Linked DNA regions of Homo sapiens: region 1 is linked to region 2. The links are contacts of gene promoters, found by promoter capture Hi-C in blood cells and fetal thymus (Javierre and others, 2016). All regions are on one chromosome and are shown on one strand. Each heading gives the region's core, a stretch centred on a gene start or on the middle of the fragment in contact. The rest is flanking DNA. Distances are from core to core; before and after follow the strand shown. Region 1 has its middle 18 kb from the start of NTSR1. Region 2 holds the start of MRGBP (MRG domain binding protein).

Region 1 (3,571 bases), core at 99-2,598, 110 kb after region 2:
CCCATCCCTCATGGTCTGGGGGATGGGCTGCCCCCCCCCCAGCAACCAGAGGCCCCATTCCCGAGGCCCCAGGGGTGGGTCTTGGGATGGGGGCATCAGCCAGTGTGGAACCCAGAGCCCTTTCGCTGGGCTTGCTGGGAAGGGCGGCCCCACTCACCGGTTGCCAAGTGGGTTCCTGGTGGCCGTGGGCAGAGCTGGGGATGGAAGAGGCACAGAGGTCTGGGGGTGTTGCTCTAGCCCCTGAGTCCTGCCCTGGGCCCTGCCTTTCCTCAAGCTGGTTTGACTTGGATTTTGTCACCTGCAGCTAGACATCGTGAGCGTGGGCACTGGAACCCAGGTGGCCAGCGGGGCCCTCCAGATGCCCCCCGGGGGTCTCTCGCCAGTGGCTCCTGAGCCTCTTACTCCGCAAGTGAAGGCAGGAAATGGTGGGTCCAGCCCACGGTTTCATTTTCTGTAACCAGTTGGAAAATTCTAACAGCGTCGTGCATGAATAGGTTCTTGTCTTCTCTGGAAATTGCAAGGCTTGATAATAACGACATTAGTTCCTGAGATGCTTCAGTCTGAGAAGAGCCGACTGGAGATAATTTGCTGCTTCCTGTGACAGCTAATGATGAGCTTCATCACAGCAGCATGTCGCTGCCACAGACGGATTTGTCTACACAGCCCAGTCACTTCAGAAAACATGTTTGGGCCGAGGCGGGTGGCTCACGCCTGTAATCCAGCACTTTAGGAGGCCGAGCTGGTGGGATCATGAGGTCAGGAGATCGAGACCATCCTGACTAACACGGTGAAACCCTGTCTCTACTAAAAATACGAAAAATTAGCCGGGCGTGGTGGCGGGCGCCTGTAGTCCCAGCTGCTTGGGAGGTTGAGGTAGGAGAATGGCGTGAACCTGGGAGGCAGCGATTGCAGTGAGCCCAGATTATGCCACTGCACTCCAGCCTGGGCAACAGAGTGAGACTCTGTCTCAAAAAAAAAAAAAAAAAAAAAAAAGAAAACATGTTTGAGGAAATGTAATCCTAGGACCTTAGTATTACTTCTTTTAAAACATTCCGGGGCTGTGGTCCAGCTGGTTTCTACTCTGAATGCTCCTGAACAGCCCTGTATTCGGTTCCTTCCCCGGCCTGGGGTCTGCAGAGGCTGCGCTGAAGTCCTGGGGACTCTGTCATTCCCGGCGGGGTGTACTGGAGACCCCCAGGGGCCATCCCAGAGCTGGGGAGCTTCTCCTTTAACAGAAGCGCCGAGGGCAGCCCCCTGAGACCACTCCTCTCCACTGTCAATCGGCCAACGGATCACTGGGGAATTCTTGACTTTGCCACATAATATTAGAACTATAATTTGGGGAAGACTGTGCGCGGGCAGGTGGGTGAGATGTGGGGGCTGACAGTGGAAGCTGTGACGGCAGGCCCGGGAGGGCGGGTTCATGATCCAACCTCATTCCGTTTACCATGTTCGACATTTCCCACAACCAAGTTAACACAACAAAGTCAATAAAACAAAACAAATGAAAGCGCGTTTATTGAATTGCGGTTCTCTGCCTGGAATAGGATGAACTGTCAGGCCCCGAATTGGAAGCCAGTAGGGTGTTTCCTTTCCATTATTAAAGAATAAATCTCAGAATGCGTCCATGAAAGTATCTCGCTGCAGAGTATGGAAATGTTAATTTCCTTTTGCAGTTTCTCTCCTGGTAAAATGAATGGTAAATCTGAGATAATAGTGAGTAATAGCACAGCCAGGGCTCTGGCCTGCGGCTCGGTGGAGGGCGGGCGTGGAGTGAGAGCATGCAGCTCCCTCCTGTTCTGTGGCTGGGATTCCCGGGGCTCCTGCAGAGCCTTCCTTGGCTGCAGGGTCAGAGCCTATGGTGACCTTGTGCAGGTGACACCCTCTGTTGAGCTCCGTCCTCCCATGGAAAACTGTCAACCCCACTCCCCTGGAGTATCAAAGGACTTGATGAGACGTCGGACACCCAGAGGTTGTCTGTCTCCCTGTGGGCCCCTGAGACAGAGGGGAGACTGGGGTCAGGGGCAGGAGGTTTACTGGGAGGACACACAGGAAGCACCGCTGGAGCAGAGAGGTGGCCGATGCGAGGGAGGGGGCCAGGACCATCGCGGGCACCCGAGGCACCATGCAGCTGGGGAATCCACGGCAGACAGGCCCACTCACCAGGCAAGGGGGCTGGGGTCGTTCACCTGCCGCGCAGGCGCAAAGCAGGCACAGAGGCCAGGGAAGCCCATGTGAACAGGAGTGCAGGCGCTGGCTGCAGGCGTCGACTCAGCCCCTGGGGGTGAGGGTGGGGACGCGGGTCCCCCGCATCTGCTCCACCCCTTTCATGATTATTTCTGCAGGTAGGGGTTCCCTCAGGTCCACCCCCTTCCTCGGCCCCAGACATTCCTGGGTGCCCCGTCCCACACATGGAGTGGGGTGAGGATGATGTGGATCCCCCTGCCAGGAACACAAGGAATCGGGCAGCTTGGCAGGATCCCTACAGCTCTGCCTGAGCCCCCGCAAGTTATTAAGGCATGGCGGTCGCCTTCCGGAGGGTCTGGGGGTCTAAGATGACCAGGGCGTCTTTGGAAAGGGGCGGTCCCCAGGAGGGGCTCAATGCGGGGTGGAGACAGCTGCTCAGGTGAGTGCTGTGCTGGGCACCCGGCTCGCTGGGCCCTGCTGGGGCTGGGGTCCCCTCTGCCACGTCCCCCGTAGGGACCTGCTGCTCATCCAGCCTGGGAGGCCATGGGCCAGCACCTGAGGAGGCTGAGCATCTGTCCGTCTGTCCGTTCGGGCAGCTGGTATCCTCAGTGCCTAGGGTGATGTCTGCGAGCCCTGGCTTCTGCACGAGCACCGGTGTGATGGAGGAAGGACTGATGGAGAGAGGGAGCCACTCTGCCCAAGAGACAGGCCTGCGAGGCACGGGGCACAGCCGGGGACAGGCCTGCGAGGCACGGGGCACAGCCGGGGACAGGCCTGCGAGGAACGGGACACAGCCGGCCAGGGACAGGCCTGCGAGGCACGGGGCACAGCCAGGGACAAGCCTATGAGGCGCGGGGCACAGCCAGGGACAGGCCTACGAGGCGCGGGGCACAGCTGGCCACGTGCAGGCCAGGGAAAAATGGGATGAGGGTTTGGAGATGAGGGCCTGACTTGATTCCTTAGAGACCGTCCATTTATGGGAAAGAATGGGGCGCCTCCGGCCACCTGCTGGCTCCAAGACTAACCACAGGAGGAAATGTCAGAGGAAATTAACTGTGCTCGAGCTTTTGTGATGAGCCTGATTTTCCAGCTTCTAGAAAGCTGTGCTTCCATGCTGAGGCTTGTACTCGTTCGGTTTATTGGGAAGAATTAAAGGGCTTCTCGGAAAATGTTAATGTCTCCTTCCCACCAGCCTGGCCACCCCAGCTTCCCCCAGGCCCTGAAAGTTAGGTCTCCCCTGTGTTTGGTGCTTCTGACATTGCAGAGGGACTCCTTCCTCCTGGCAGCTCTGCCTTCAAGCCCAGAAAGCCATTGCTGGACACAACCCAAGTCAGGGGACCGGGTTTGCTGGAGTGGGTGGCAGGGGGCATGCATCCCCCACCCC
Region 2 (3,271 bases), core at 548-3,047:
GGCTCCGCCTGCCCAGCACGGCCTGCAGTCTCACCATGAGACTGCGTTCCCCAAGGCGGCATGCAGAGGGCACAGTGACAGCCCTGGGGAAAGGCCGCAGGCACCTCGAGTTCTCATCCACGTGGCAGGAGCCCATGGACACCGAGGGTGTCGGTTGGGAGCGCCACAGGCACAGAACCAGGCAAAGAAGAAGAGAGTGCTTGCCAGGCACTGCCCTCCTGAGGTCGCACAGACCAGAGGGAGAGACCTATGTCATACTGATGGCCGGTGTGGCCCTGAGTCCAACGTGGCTGGCACAGACTCTCCACCAGCACAGGTCCCCACTCCTCCTGGTCACCTGACCCCTGACCCCCACCCCACTCTCCAAGTACACCACCTTCTTTGAGCTCCTGGACCCACCACCTCCTGCTGCCACAGGGCCTGGAACACCCACCTGTCTCTTCTGGCCACCCTGCTTACCTAGTTAACCCGCTCGCCCGTCACACAGTGCCAGCTCCAAGCTCTGCGAGGACTGGAACTCTACTTGTCTGACTCCCACAGAAGTCACCAAATTCACCTTGGTGTGACTCAGATAGGGTCACCCTCTGCCTAAAGCACTTCGGGGGCCTCCCAGGAGGCTGACAATGGCCTAAGGGCCCGGGACTCTGCATCCTTCCCTCCCTCCCCAGGGTCTCAGCTGGAGACTCTGGCCCAGCACCCAGTCTAAAGCAGAGCCCCTGAAAAGCTAGCCAGCTGCTAGCACTGTGTTTGTGCTTTCCATGACAGGCTCTGGAGCCCCGGGATGTCCTCCTTAAGGACGAGCCTCACTGCAGGGGTCTCTGCCCAGGGGACCCCAGCAGGCACGGAGGGGCCTCTGCCCAGCTCAGGCTGACCCTGAGAGCTCACTGCAGACCCCAGCAGGCATGGAGGGGCCTCTACTCTGCCCAGCAGACCCCAGCAGACATGGAGGGGCCTCTGCCCAGCTCAGGCTGACTCTCAGAGAGCGGTGTGCGGGTTCGTGCCCCCATCGGGCGGCACAGGGAGGGCGGTTGGGCTCACCAGCGCCTGCATGTCGTACATGGTGCTCAGATGGTCCCAGATGACCTTGGATGGGACCTGCCGCCCGATGTTCTGGCTGAACTTGTCCCGAATACAAATCATGTGGAAGTGTCGGTTCACACCTGAGGGGAGGAGGGGCGGCGGGATAACCGGTGAGCGGTGAGGAGAAAGGGGATGGAGGGGACGGGCTGCCCTGGGGACTGGAGGGGCAAGGGTGGCTGCGGAGAGATGGGGAGGGCCAGGGTGTGGAGGGGCTGTGGGGGGGCAGGGCTGGGTGGTGTGTGTGGGAGGGGGTGGGCTGTCCCGGGGCGGGGGTGGGGGTGGGGCACTGCGGGCTGGGACCTCGCGGTCTCACGGGGGTAGGGGTCGTGGGCGGGGTCCGGGGCGGGGTCCGAAGGGCGCGTGGGAGGGGGCGGGGGTCCCGGGACGGGTGTGGCGGCGGTGTCACGGCCCGGGCTCGGCGGGGAGCGTGGGGGCGAGGGTGTCGCGAGCGCAGGCCCCGCCCCGCCCCGCCGGTTGCCCGCCCCGCCCCCACGCGCGTCCGCAGCCTGGGCGCTCACCGACGGGCTTGTGGCCCAGCATGGCGTGGAAGAGGCACACCTCCACCTCGGGGCTCCACACCACTGTCTCCTCCGCCGGGCTGGTGGCCGCCTCCCCCGGGCCCTTGTCGCCTGCGGCGCCCCCGCCGCCCACCTCGGCCTCTCCCATGGCCGCGGCCCGGCCGAGCAAGGAGCCCCCGGCGGGAGCAGGCGCGGCCACGAGCTCCGCGCAGGCGCACTCGGGGGCGGGCGCGCGCTCCGCCGGGTACGCGCTCGGGCTCACGCGCCGGCGTCGGCGCAGGCGCAGCCGAGGTCTCGGGTCCCTTCCCGCCGGGGACTCCGCCCTGCTCCGCCCCGCGCGGGGGTTCTTAAAACGTGTTCCTCTTTAAAGCACAGTAAGAAATACACTGCACCCAAACAAAAAAGTCTGTGCTTCAAAGGAAACCATCAGAAAAGTGAAAAGACGACCCACAGATGAGAGAAAATATTTGCAAATCCTATATCTGATAATGAACTTCCTTGTAGAAGGTATAAATAATTCTTATAACTCGATAATAAAAAGACAATCTAACTATAAAACGGCTAAGGATTTGGATACACATTTTTCCAAAGAAGATGTACAGATGGGCCGGGCGCGGTGGCTCACGCCTGTAATCCCAGCACTTTGGGGGGCCGAGGCGGGCGGATCACCTGAGGTCAGGAGTTCGAGACAAGCCTGGCCAACATCGTATAACCCCGTCTCTACTAAAAATACAAAAAAAGTAGCCGGGCGTAGTGGCGGGCGCCTGTAATCCCAGTTACTCGGGAGGCTGAGGCAGGAGAATCGCTTGAACCCGGGAGGCAGTGAGCCGAGATCGCGCCATTGCAATCCAGCCTGGGCAACAAGAGCGAAACTCCGACTCGAAAAAAAAAAAAAGATGTACAGATATGGCTAATGAGCACCATCGGTCACGCGAAACTAGAATCAGCCCGCGTGGGGACCCCCTGCCCCGCCGAGACCGCCACAACCACGCGGCCGGGGTGACGAGTGCTGCGAGGGTCAGGGCTCGGGACCCTCGTGCGGTCGTGCTGTGCGGTCAGATGGGCCGCTGCTGCGAAAGACAGTCTGGCCGTTCCTTCAACGATGGAACCGTCTCCCTAGGAAGCAGCAGCTCCGTGGCGGGCGCCCGCGGCAGTGGAACAAGACACAGGTTCAGGCTGGGACCCGCAGCCGCGAGGCAAGCGCCGCCCCCAACCCGGGGCTGAACCTGCGAGGGGCGCCCGGAGCGCGGGCACCCGCACGGCGCAGCCGCGTTCAGCCTAAAAGCAGCGAGCGCGGACTGCGGCAGCGTGGGTGCGGGCTGAGACGAAAGTCAGAGAATTCAGACACGAAAATACACAGCATGGGAATCCATTCACAGGAAGAGCCAGAACTGGCAACTCCATAGGAATAGAAAGTAGATGCACGGTTGCCGGGGACGGGGGAGGGGGAGGGAAACGCGAGTCACTGCGGATGGGGACCGGCTTCTTTTTTGTTTGTTTTTGAGGCAGAGTCTCGCTCTGTTGCCCGGGCTGGGGTGCAATGGCACGATCTCGCCTCACTGCAACCTCTGCCTCTTGGGTTCAAGCGATTCTACTGCCTCAGACTCCCGGGTAGCTGGGACTACAGGCGCTCACCACGGCCGGCTAATTTTTGTATTTTTAGTAGAGACGCG

What was found. The method cuts DNA at HindIII sites, captures the fragments that hold promoters and counts their contacts. A CHiCAGO score of 5 or more calls a contact.
Region 1: a contact is called between a fragment that was not itself captured here and the fragment with the promoter of MRGBP in region 2, in 1 of 17 cell types (monocytes). The highest score is 8.1, in monocytes.

Annotation. Positions count from the first base shown.
Region 1 is chr20:62,688,661-62,692,231 of GRCh38, reverse strand. It overlaps a transcript of SLCO4A1 not described here. Among named protein-coding and RNA genes, the nearest start is that of NTSR1, 18 kb to the left of the region's middle. The HindIII fragment of the contact is 8,947 bases long and covers 1-3,571 here.
Region 2 is chr20:62,794,999-62,798,269 of GRCh38, reverse strand. It overlaps MRGBP (MRG domain binding protein), which reads right to left and starts at 1,797. Exons shown (of 5, transcript NM_018270.6): 1 at 1,599-1,797; 2 at 1,039-1,160. The coding sequence starts at 1,746. RefSeq lists a silencer at 1,491-2,030 and an enhancer at 2,654-3,200. The HindIII fragment of the contact is 13,279 bases long and covers 1-3,271 here.